Regions from separate parts of the Homo sapiens genome. Here region 2 is linked to region 1. The links are contacts of gene promoters, found by promoter capture Hi-C in blood cells and fetal thymus (Javierre and others, 2016). All regions are on one chromosome and are shown on one strand. Each heading gives the region's core, a stretch centred on a gene start or on the middle of the fragment in contact. The rest is flanking DNA. Distances are from core to core; before and after follow the strand shown.

Evidence for each region. Contacts are between HindIII fragments. The CHiCAGO score rates a contact against its expected background, and 5 or more counts as called.
Region 2: a fragment that was not itself captured here is called in contact with the fragment with the promoter of ABCC3 in region 1 in 2 of 17 cell types (naive CD4 T cells and naive B cells); the score reaches 5.5 in naive CD4 T cells.

What each region holds. Positions count from the first base shown.
Region 1 is chr17:50,632,089-50,636,130 of GRCh38, forward strand. ABCC3 (ATP binding cassette subfamily C member 3) reads left to right here and starts at 2,793. Exons shown (of 31, transcript NM_003786.4): 1 at 2,793-2,893. The coding sequence starts at 2,849. RefSeq lists a silencer at 2,763-2,812. The HindIII fragment of the contact is 5,138 bases long and covers 1-4,042 here.
Region 2 is chr17:50,800,357-50,807,940 of GRCh38, forward strand. No RefSeq gene overlaps it. Among named protein-coding and RNA genes, the nearest start is that of WFIKKN2, 31 kb to the right of the region's middle. RefSeq lists a silencer at 5,811-6,032. The HindIII fragment of the contact is 2,841 bases long and covers 3,313-6,153 here.

The DNA of each region.
Region 1 (4,042 bases), core at 1,543-4,042:
ACAGTGATAAACAAACTTCAGTCCCTACCCTCAAGGTGTCCACAGTCCTCTGGGGGAGGTAAGCAAGACATCAGTGATTACAAGTGGGGGAAGCCTCCTAGCCCAGGACTGGGTTGGGGAGGTCCAAGGAAGGCTTTGACGGGGAGGGGGGCTTGAGCGAACTCTTGAAGAAGTTTGCCACTTGCAGAAAGGGAGGTAGGGTGTAGGTAGGAGAGTGCACCAAGCAGCCTTGAAGACAGATACAGGAAGTGCATCCCGCTCAAGGAGACTGCGCAGAAACAGTCTCCTCGGCAGACGTGGGGCGCCTCCTGCGTGTGCTGGGATAAGCTCTGTGGCGCTGAGCAAGCTGTAGGGTGTCTCAGGGCCTCAGATTTCTTGCTCTGGTGAGAACAACCAAAACAATAACATCCTAGAAATATTGTGGTTATTATTCAAGGGCTCTGTGAAAGGGGACACACTTCCTGAGTGGCCTGGAGGGGTAAAGCCCCAATACCTCAAGAGAGATGGGGGAAGGTGAGGATCGCTAAGGGCCCCCACCACGCCCTCAGAGTGCCCAACCCAGTGCTATAGCCTTGGGAAAGCAATAGCGATAGAAAAGCCTGGGGCTGCAAGGGATGGTGCTTCAGCTCCGATGCTGAAGCCAGAACCCAAGGGTCCTAGCCCAAAACTAGAGCTCCAGCCAGTGCACTGCCTGGCCAACTGTGGGGCTGGAAAGTCCCGGACGGAAGCTCAGGCTAGTTCTGGGCTCTCCATCTCAGAAAGGAGGTCTGATTGGGGAGCTCACCTCCCAAAGGGCCCTAAAGGAAAGTCCCCAGGTCTCCTCAAGCCCAGAGCAATCTGGTGCCTATGACCCCACAAGCCCTAGAAAAGGAATGGGAGAGGAGGGAGAGTTGGAGGAAGCCGGTGGGTAGACAAGGTCAAAACACAGGGGCAGTGGGTGCTGATGAAGCCATGACCAGGGTCATGGAAGGGGTGGAGGAAGGTTCCCAGCTGCCTAGGCCATAGAAGCCTGGCCCACCAGGGCTGGAAGAGAGCTTAGATATCACCCTGTCCACGTTTCTCAAGAAATGAAGTCCCAGAGGCATCAAGGAGCTTATTGAGATCACACAGTGTATAAAAGGTATGGAGGGGGATTGGAGGGGACTGAGTTAGTCCCTGCCCTTGGGGACCTCTCAGATTAGCAGGGAAGACAGACTCTTCATAACTAAATATAATCCAAGGCACGCCGTAACAAGGTGTAAAGCTCTGTAAAGTATTTTGCCCAGAGATGAAGGTAGGGGGACAGGAGAGGGAGGGTATGTGTGGATGAGTGGAAAGGAAGAGGGCAGACAAAGAAGGGGCTGAAAGAACTTGCCCAGTGGAGGGGTAGAAGTCCCTGGTCTGACTGCCTGGGAAAGGGGAATCTTCTCCACTCCCACCCCTATCCCATGCCCAGCCAGATCTTGGTTCTGATAGCCTATAGCCAAGGAGACTTCCCTTCTAGTGACCTCCTGGCTGCCCAGAGAGATAGGAGGTGGCTTGCCCCTTCTGCACTCTTACTGGCTCCCACCCACACCTGCCGCTGAGCAGCCAAGGAAGGAAACACCTTCTCTTGAGAACAAGGGCCAGAAAAGGGGTCACCGGGGTGAAACTGGACAGACCTGTGGGCAAAGGCAGGGAAGAGAAGGGCCAGGGAAAGATTTGCCAGGGAGAATTCCTTCTGAGCCCCAACAAGCGGTGCTGAGTTGGCGTCTGGGATTGTGTTAAGGAAGACAGGGCAACAGCGGGATTGAGAGATGGAGGGATCCCCGCATCTGAGGGGATACCGGGAGAAGGAGAGCTGAGGCAAGCAGGAGAAGGAGAGCACTGACAAGCCCATTTTACAGATCAGGAATGTAGAGTTTCAGCCTTAGGAGGAGGACGAGGACGAGGACACTCACGTGGGGCTCCTCCTGGGGCTTCACCTGTCCTTCCCCCCCCAACCCTGATCAGGCTGAAGCAGAGGGAATTCACACATGTTGGGTGCCCACTAAGTGTGCCAGGAAATACGCTTTGCCTACCCTTTCCATTCAATCCTCAGAGAACCCTGGGAGGAAGATTCTCTTCTATGATTGTCTCTATTTTACGGATGTGAAAGTAGAGGCCCAGAGACGTGCCGAGGTGATGTGGCAAGGTCAGGGAGCCACAGAGCCTAAGAGGGCAGCAGTTTAAGAGGACATAAGAGGCCCCCGCTGGACGATGCTGCGGCCCCCACCCCCGCCTCACGGGTACACACCCGCGGAGCACACCCCGTGTGCTCCCCGTGTGGCGCCTGCCAGTGGTCTCTGGAACCTGATGGGGAAGAGGTCAGCTTCCTGATTGAGCACAGAAGCCCTTCCCATTTTACAGATGAGGAAACTGACCTCCGGAGAGGAACGTGACCTTCTCAAAGATTCCTTTTTTACTAGGAAAGATTGTTAAATCCCTCTCCCTACGTCCCCTACTCAATGACTCATCGGCCCCACGGACTTGTTCGGGAGTGGGAGCGCCTGTGTATCCCAGTTCCCCCTTGGAAATAGACTCGACTCCTGGACTGTTAGCCTCGGTATTTAGAGAGACATCCCCCTGGCTTGGCCCAGGGGCCGCTCGCAGGGGCTGTCGCCGTGCCAAGGGCCCCCCCACCTCTGCCCCAAAGTCCCTCCCAGGGAGGCGCTGTCGCAACCCGCGGGACGGGGGCAGGGAGACCGGACCCAGAGGCACTGGGGTAGGGCTCGGCAGGGCGGGTCCGGGCGGAGCGCGGGGTGCGGAGGGCGGAGGCGGCTCCGGCGCCCGCTCTGCCCGCCGCTGGGTCCGACCGCGCTCGCCTTCCTTGCAGCCGCGCCTCGGCCCCATGGACGCCCTGTGCGGTTCCGGGGAGCTCGGCTCCAAGTTCTGGGTAAGGCGCGGGGCTCCGGGGTCACTGCGCGGGGGCCAGGGTCGGCCGGCTTCGCCCGGTCCCCGCCGCCTGCCTTCCCGCGGGGCCGGCAGGTATCCCGGGACGGAGCCCCTGAGACGGCCTGGGCGCCCGGGAGGGGGCGATGGGCTCGGGAGGGAGGTTGGCTGCGCCGCCCGGAGCCGGGTCCCACGCGGTGTCGGGGACCTGCCCTGCTCTGCCCTTCCCGGCTGCAGCACTGGGGAGCCCGGGAAAGTGAGGAAGAGTGCGCGGCTGGGGCGCAAAGGCACAGTGCGTGGCTGGGTGAGTCGGCTCCATCCCAGCCCCTCCGTCGGGTGCGGAAGGGGCGTTTCGCAATCAGCCGCGGGTTCCTGATGGAGGGTCTTCCCTCAGCATCTGCCTCAGGTTAGGACTCGGTTGCCCACCTGGGCATGGATTGCCCCCAGGGCATCCAGAGCACCTGCTCAACCAGGTGTTTTGGGAGGCCGGCTGTGCAGTGTCCCACCCTTCTTAGGAAGGTTTCCTGCCACCTTCTTTTCTCTAGGTAAGACTGAGGTCTGAGAGCAGGCCATCCCCACCACTCCGGACTCAGAAGGGAGAAGCAGACCCCAGTCTGGAGACAGGTGCAGGGTGTCAGGATTCCTGTAGTCCAACTCCCTTCTCACAGATGGAGAAAGGGAGGCCCAGAGAGAGGAAGGGACTTGCCCAAAGTTACCCAGTTCAATGAAGGCAGAGCTGGGATAGAAAAACAGGCTACAGGCCAGGTGCAGTGGTTCACGCCTGTAATCCCACCCTTTGGGAGGCAGAGGTGGGAGGATCACTTCAGCCCAGGAGTTTTAGATTACTGTGAGCTATGATCGCACCACTGCACTGTGGCCTGGGCGAAAGAGTGAGACCCTGTCTCTAAAAAAATAAATAAATAAGAAAAGAAAATCAAGCCTTTGGTGACTCTCACTCCAAATCTCTTTCTAAGACAGGCTGCTCTTCAGCCTGCTGACTCCAGCCTCCAGCACAGTTCAGGTGAGCTAAGTGCATACAGCCTAGGAGCTTTCTTACCAACTTGCAAAACTTACTTGCCTCTATGAGGCAAGTGATCATGTGGTCTCCGTTTTACAGAGGGAGCTCAGATTAAAGGTGCTTCTCTGTGGTCAT
Region 2 (7,584 bases), core at 3,483-5,982, 170 kb after region 1:
GGAGACCCTGGGGCTCTCCGAGGGTGCCAGTCATCCCTCAGGAATGGGATGAGCCCCGATGCCAGGAAGGGCAAGCGCTGAGGCCAAGGACACAGGCAGGAGTCAGACGACACGGCGTCTGTACCAGGGAGCTTGGGTTTAATCTTCTGAGCCACGGGACGGCACTGATGGGTTTTAAGCCGTGTAAAGACTTGATCCAATTTGTGAATTGGATCATCCTGGCTGCAGTGGGCAAGCTGCTGGGGTGCCAGGAATTGTTTGGAAGTCATTGGTCCAACACATGGCAGTGGTGTGACCACCTGGGAGAATGACCCCGCAGAGCAGACAAGTGGCCCAGGACGCACCTTTCGGAATGTCAGCATGGGGAGGGAAGGCCGGGAAGAGGAGCTGGTCAGAGAGAGTGTATAAGTGGCTGGAAGAGATAGAAAGTGGCCTTCAGAAGGCAGGCGGAGGATGGTTAGGGAAGATGGGATTGTCAGTAGCATCAGATGCAGCCAAGAAGTCAAGTGATGCAAGAACTGAATGTATCATTGGCTTTGGTGATTGGGAGGTGGCCTCCGTGAGTGCAGCGTGAAGGAGGTCGAAGCCAGCGGGCTTGCCACAGGCTGACAGGCAGCTGGAAACTTGTTCCTTGTGCACAGCAGTTATGAAGGCTGGGGAGCAGCCTTCTTAGAGGAGGAGGAGGAAGAGGAGGAAGAGGAGAAGGAGGAAGAGGAGGAGGAGGAGGAGGGGGAAGAGCTGCTCCTGATCAAGTTCCCTTGGGCATTGCTGGCTGAGCAGGAGCTTCAGCTTGCAGCTGCTTTGGGACCATTCACCCTGGATGGAAGCCTGAGTGAATCATTACCCCCAGGGTCTAAGGTGCTGCATTGTAGCAGCAAAGAGCCCCCATTATAACAGCACTCGGCTGATGGCCTACTGCACGCCAGGCACTGAGCCAGGGCTTTGTGCACACTATTTCATCGAGTCCTGCACAGGGGCATTATAGCCTGGGTGCTGAGGTTCAGAGAGAGGTAAGTGACTTAAGCAAGAAGCTCTGCTAGTCAGTAGCAGAGAAGAGATGTGAAGCCAGGACGACCTGAACCCGAGGCTGTTTCAGCTTCATCCTGCTGTTGTCCTAACTCCTGGGAGATATGGCTGAGAAGTTCTCTTTGGTCCTTGGCTGTTGGGTGGTAAGTGGTGGACAGGTGGCCATGCTTATCCAACCTGGGCCAGGAACTGGACTTCAGGTGGCTGGATCATTCATGGAGAGAGCGGCAGTGGCTAGGGTTGGCATGAGTCAAGGTAACAAATGGCCGATGCTGTCTTCTTGAGGGGTTCTCTGCTCTCAGGGTGGTGGTAGAACCGTGGAGGCAGTGGGATGCAGGTACCAGGGGGTTCACCTGGAATGAAATCCTTAGCCCTGGGACCCTAGATGGGCTCTCGGTCTGAGGTCAGGGTCAAGGGTCACAAGTGCTAGACAGGGTCCTCCATGATGGAAGGAGCCTCCAGAATCCTGGAGGGTAATTCACAGTAGACTGTAGTAGCCCTCTGAGGAGTGAAGCTTTGAGTGGTGGCCATCTCTGGAGAGAAGGAGGGTACAGCTAGTGGAGTTGATGGTCTAGGACAGCCCAGTGTTCCCTAGCAGTCATCCTCTGAGGCTGCCACAATGGCTCCGTGATTTGGGAGCAGAGATGCTGCACACAGTTGACCCTCACATCTATAGCAGCCACAGCTGGATGGTGTGACAAGCATTGCTGGGTGCTCTCTTTTCATCTGGGCACACAGCAAGACTGTATGCCCAGCTTCTCTTGCAGTTAGATGTGGCCGTGAGATTGAGTTCCATCTCAGTGGAGGGAACAGTCTGATGAAATGTGACTGCTTTTCTAGGCCTGCCTGTAACTATAAAAGCCTTCCCCACTTCACCAGTTCTTCATGCCCTTTCCCCTTTCATTGCTGGATGTCAACATCCCAAGTGATCTTGGGAGCCATGTGTTGAAGGTGACAGATCCCGGGTAATTGAAGACCTCTGTGGCAGAGAGCTCCTCCCCCAGCTCCAGGGACTGGGCCCACCTGTGACTGTTTATGTGAATGAGAATTCCACCTCACTACGCTTGTGCCATTATCATTCTCAGGCTTGTTTCTTGCAGCATTAACTGATCCTGTCTAATACAGACAGCCACAAAGCCGTTAGGTCCTGAGATCTCTTAGCTTTCATCTCCGGCTATTCTGTATCTGTTCAGCAGTTTTGACTCCCCCTAGCCTGGAGCTGATGTGGAATTTGAACTCTCACGAGGCACAAGCCAAGTCATTTTCTTTGGATGATTATGTTCTGATGTGCTGATGTACCATCTTGGGGAGCCAGACCCTGTAAAGTGGTTCATCCCCCCGCTTTACTGTGGGTGTAATTGTGCCTGGGGTGTTGACCTCAGCTAGGACCAACTTTCTCCAAATAGACAGGGGCAGAGGTCACCTGTGCTGGCTTCCTGTTGCAATTTTATGTCCCCACCAGAGCACAAATAGCACTCCCCTAGGTGAAGTGGCTCAGGAACAAGGAGGACAGACAGAAATGGGTTTCTCAGCTCCTGGCAGCTCATGCTGCTACCAGGCCTTTCTCCTTCTCTAGGAGGCTGGCTGTGAGGCAGGAGGGGAAGAAAAAAGGTGACAGTGTTTCACTTTTGTTTTGTTTTGTTTTTTTGAGACAGGGTCTTGCTCTGTGGCCCAGGCTGGAGTGCAGTGGCACAATCATGGCTCACTGAAGCTTCAACCTCCCATCCTCAAGCAATCCTCCTGCCTCAGCCTCCCAAGTAGCTGGGACCACAGGCGTGCGCCACAACACTCGGCTAATTTTTTATTTTTAGTAGAGACAAGATCTCACTATGTTGCCCAGGCTGGTCTCCAACTCCAGGGCTCAAGTGATCCGCCCACCTTGGCATCCCAAATGCTGGGATTAGAGGCGGGAGCCACCGTGCCTGGCTGTAGGTGTTTCTTGTGTCTCTGGTGAACCCTAGGAAGTATACTCAAACGAGTCAAAACCAAACCAAACAACAGGCCCCGATTGGAAGGACACCAGGAAGCTGAGAATGGCAGCAACTGGGGTGTCTCTGAAGACCTCACAGGCCACCGTTAGAGACCCAGCCCCTGTGGGCTTCAGCAGCTCCAGGCCACCTCCTTCCAGTCCTGCCCCCTGCACCTGTGAGGCAAGCTTGGCAGAAAAGTCCGGAGAAAGAGATCCAAAGGGTCTGGCTTGTAACCTCTTTAGGTGGGAGAAACGAGTTCAGTTTGAATCACAGGCCTCACCCTGCAGCCTGCGGCAGAGTCTTGGGGAAAGAAAGAAGCTTTGCTTTCATTAAAACTCAGAAACAGCCAGAGGCACCTTTTTCTTAAAGCCAGTATCTGCAGAGAAAAACAGCAGACTGGTCTCGCTTAGTAAGTGAAACAGAGGGACCTAGTTTAGATGGGGAAAAAGAAACACAAAACAAAGGACAAGAACCCAGTGAGTTTGCTGAGCGTATTTGCAGCTGAAGTGATTGACAGTGGGTGCAGGTCCTGAACCATGACTGTGTCCTGTGCTATCGAGCTTCATTTCACTCAGTTACCTAAAGTGTGTTCTACATCCTCGAGATTTATAATGATGATAATGGGGATGATAATGACTCATGTATTTTATTGTTCCTACTTTTCAGGCACAGTTTTTTGTTTGTTTGTTTGTTTTTGAGATGGAGTCTCGCTCTGTCGCCCAAGCTAGAGTGCAGTGGCAGATCTCAGCTCATTGCAAGCTCCGCCTCCCAGGTTTAAGCGATTTGCAGCTAATTTTTTGCATTTTTAGTAGAGACAGGGTTTCACCATGTTGGCCAGGCTGGTCATGAACTCCTGACCTCAAGTGATTCGCCTTCCCTGGCCTCCTAAAGTGCTGGGGTTACAGGCGTGAGCCACCACGCCCGGCATCAGGCACAGTTTTTAAGTGAGTTATATGTCGTAAATCCTCAAAATATTCCTATGGAGTAAGTACTATTATCCCATTGTACAGATGAGGAACCCGAGGCACAAAGTTATATGAAAAAGGCTCTGTAGAAAAAAATTAGAACAACAAAAATTATCTTTTTCTCTCTCTTTTTTTTTTGTTGTTTTTGCTTTTTTGGTTTTTTTTTTATGGAGATGAGGGTCCCACTATGTTGCCCAGGCTGGTCTCGAACTCCTAGGCTTCACGATCCTCCTGCTTCGGCCTTCCAAAGTGCTGGGATTACAAGCATGAGCCTCTGCACCTGGCCACTCATCCTTGTGTATGGAGTGGCTGGACAAAACACAAAGTCACTTAAGATAGACACTGAAGAGTCTACTTTAATTGCACATAGGGCCTTTGCCTAATGAGTCACATAATCGGGGCTCCGTGGAGTCATTAATATTTCACATCTTTTCCCATCAGCACAAAGTAAACACTATTTTAATAACCGCAATACTGCTTCTTTTTTTGGGCCCAGGAAATTGCTTGGTTCATTGTTCCATTTTAGAAAAGATTAAACAAAATTGATTTTCATAATTGTCATTCTGTACTTTTTTTTTGAGACAGAGTTTCACTCTTGTTGCCTATGCTGGAGTGTGATGGCGCAATCTCAGCTCACCGCAACCTCCACCTCCACCTCCCGGATTCAAGCGATTCTCCTGCCTCGGCCTCCCAAGTAGCTGGGATTACGGGCATGCACCACCACACCTGGCTACTTTTGTATTTTTAGTAGAGATGGGGTTTCTCCATGTTGGCCAGGCTGGTCTTGAACTCTCGACCTCAGGTGATCTGCCCGCCTTGGCCTTCCAAAGTGGTGGGATTACAGGCGTGAGCCACCGTGCCCTACAGTTTTTTTTTTTATTTTTTAGACAGAGTCTGGACAGAGTTTTGCCCTGTCATCCAGGCTAGAGTGCAGTGGTGTGATTTCGGCTCACTGCAATCTCCACCCCCCAGATTCAAGCAATTCTGCCTCAGCCTCCTGAGTAGCTGGGACTACAGGCGCACACCACCATGACCAGCTAACTTTTGTATTTTTAGTAGAGACAGGGTTTCACCATGTTGGCCAGGCTGGTCTTGAACTCCTGACCTCCAGTGATCCCCTGCCTCAGCCTCCCAAAGTGCTGGGATTACAGGTGTGAGCCACCACACCTGGACTCATTCTGTACTACTCGTCCCCAAGGGGAAATCTTATACTTTCTGATTCCACAATAAGTTCTGAGGAGGAGGTGAGGAGGGTTGCTGGTCAGACAGACACTGGGGAATCTACCTAGGAAGTGTCAATAGCCAGTTCAGCACACGCAGAAGTCCTGGCTGGACAGAGGAGGGCCCAGGTGTTCTGCATGTGGGAACACAGTCCTTAGGAACAGCTGGCTTGGAGGCGATGCTGCCTAAGCCAGCAACTTTTTCCAGGCCCCACTGGACGGCACCCAAGGACGTTATCCAGGCGAATGGTGACTCCCTGCAGGATCCATTCATTAGCCACATGGGGTGGGGGGAATGACATGGGGTGGGGGGAATCCCACAAGCCAAGGGTCAGTTACCAGGTGCAAACTGTCCAAGGAACACCTGGAGAACTTTCTTGCACTTTCTGACCTCCAGGGTCTCGACAAGCCTGGGCGTGCCCCAGAGGTCCAGTTTTTATGAATATTGGAGCTCCATGCTGTTCATCCAGGAAGCTCAAAGTTAAATGAAACACCTGGGGACCCCACAGAGTTATTATATTGTGGGGGGGTGCTAGTCTGGGCCCAGGCAGGATGCCCCATTTTCTCCACTTCAGGGAGCACCTGGGATTTGTGGTGGGAGATGGAGCTGCCCCCGTGAGGACTCTGGCTTGAAAGTGACAAAATCCAACATGAGCCAGCTTGGGCAGAAAGGGGGAATTTGCTAGAATCAACCAAAAACTTCAGCTGCACACTTGGCCGCTCCGCATGTGGGAAAGGCTGAGCTGCAGAGACCCTGCATCAGGTAGGGTTCCGGGATGGCATGGCAGCCCCACTAGGGCCACGTGGTTGGAATAGGGGGAGAAGCTGCCCCCAGGAAGAAAGGGTGTTCCCTGAAGAGGGCATGCGGCAGATCAAGAGGCAAATGTGCGCCTCACCAAGGAACTTGGCTTAGCGTTGCCAAATTTTCTCTGTGTTGGATTAGGGTCAAACTCTTGTTTGACTTGGCACAGAAGCTTGGAGGCCCGCTGGCTGCATGACTGCCTCACTCAGAGATGAGTATGGAGGGTCTAGAGGGGGCGCTGTGGGGCTCTGGCCAGAAACAGCCGAAAGTAGAAAACCATCCAAATATCCAAAAATTGATGAATGAATCAACACAATGTAGAACCTACAAACAACAGGCTGGGCGCAGTGGCTCATGCCTGTAATCCCAGCACTTTGGGAGGCCGAGGTGGGTGGATCACTTGAGGTCAGGAGTTTGAGACCAGCCTGGCCAACATGGTGAAACCCTGTCTCTACTGAAAATACAAAAATTAGCCAGGCGTGGTGGTGCACAATTGTAATCCTAGCTACTCGGGAGGCTGAGGCAGGAGAATCACTTGAACTCGGGAGGCGGAGGCTGCAGTGAGCCGAGATCGAACCACTGCACTCCAGCCTGAGTGACAGGGTGAGACTCCATCTCAAAAAAAAAAAAAAAAGAACCAACAAACAACAGAATATTATTCACCCATGTAAAGCAGTGAAGTACTGACACCCACCACAGTATAGATGAACCCTGCAAACCTCATGCTAAATGAAAGAAGCCAGACACAAAAAGGCCAATATTGTATGACTCCATTTATGTGAAATGTTTAGATAGGCAAATCCACAGAGACAGGAAGCAGATTTGCGGTTGCCAGGGGCTGTGGGGAGGGGGAATGGGAGTGATGGCTAATGGATTTCCTTTGGGGATGATGAAAAAGTTCTGGAACTAGGTAGTGGTGATGGTTGCACAACAATGTGAATGTCCTCGATGCCACTGAATTGCATACCTACAATGGTTAAAATGGTAAAATTTATATTATGTGTGTTTCATCACAATAATAAGAAAAAAGATGAGCTTCCTTCAGACAAACACATGGGAGCTTGCAGCTTGGAGACTCGGGAGAAGATGTGTGTGAGACGGTTACCCGCACAATGGGTGGGTTCCATAGCTTGGGTCAAGAGTTCAAGACCAGCCTGTGCAACATGGCAAAACCCCGTCCGTCTCTACAAAAATTAGCCAGGTATGGTAGTGCAAACCTGTAGTCCCAGCTACTTGGGAGCCTGAGATGGGAGGATGGCTTGAGCCTGGGAGCCAGAGGTTGCACCACTGCACTTCAGCCTGGGTGATAGAATCAGACCTTGACTCACTGACTCAAAAAAAAAAAAGAAAGAAAAAGAGAAAAGAAAAGAAGAAGAAGAAGAAGAGGAGGAGGAGGAGGAGGAGGCAACGAATCACAGAGGGAGAAACTGGAGTGAGGTGGTCAGGGTGCTGGGAGCCAATAGAAGCTGGAAGAGCCAGGGGCGGATTCTCTCTGTGAGCCTTGGCCCAGTGAAAATGGATTTCGGACTCTGGCCTCCAGAACTGTGAGAAAGTAAATTTCTGTTGTTTGAAGCCACTGAGTTTCTGGCAATTTGTTACAG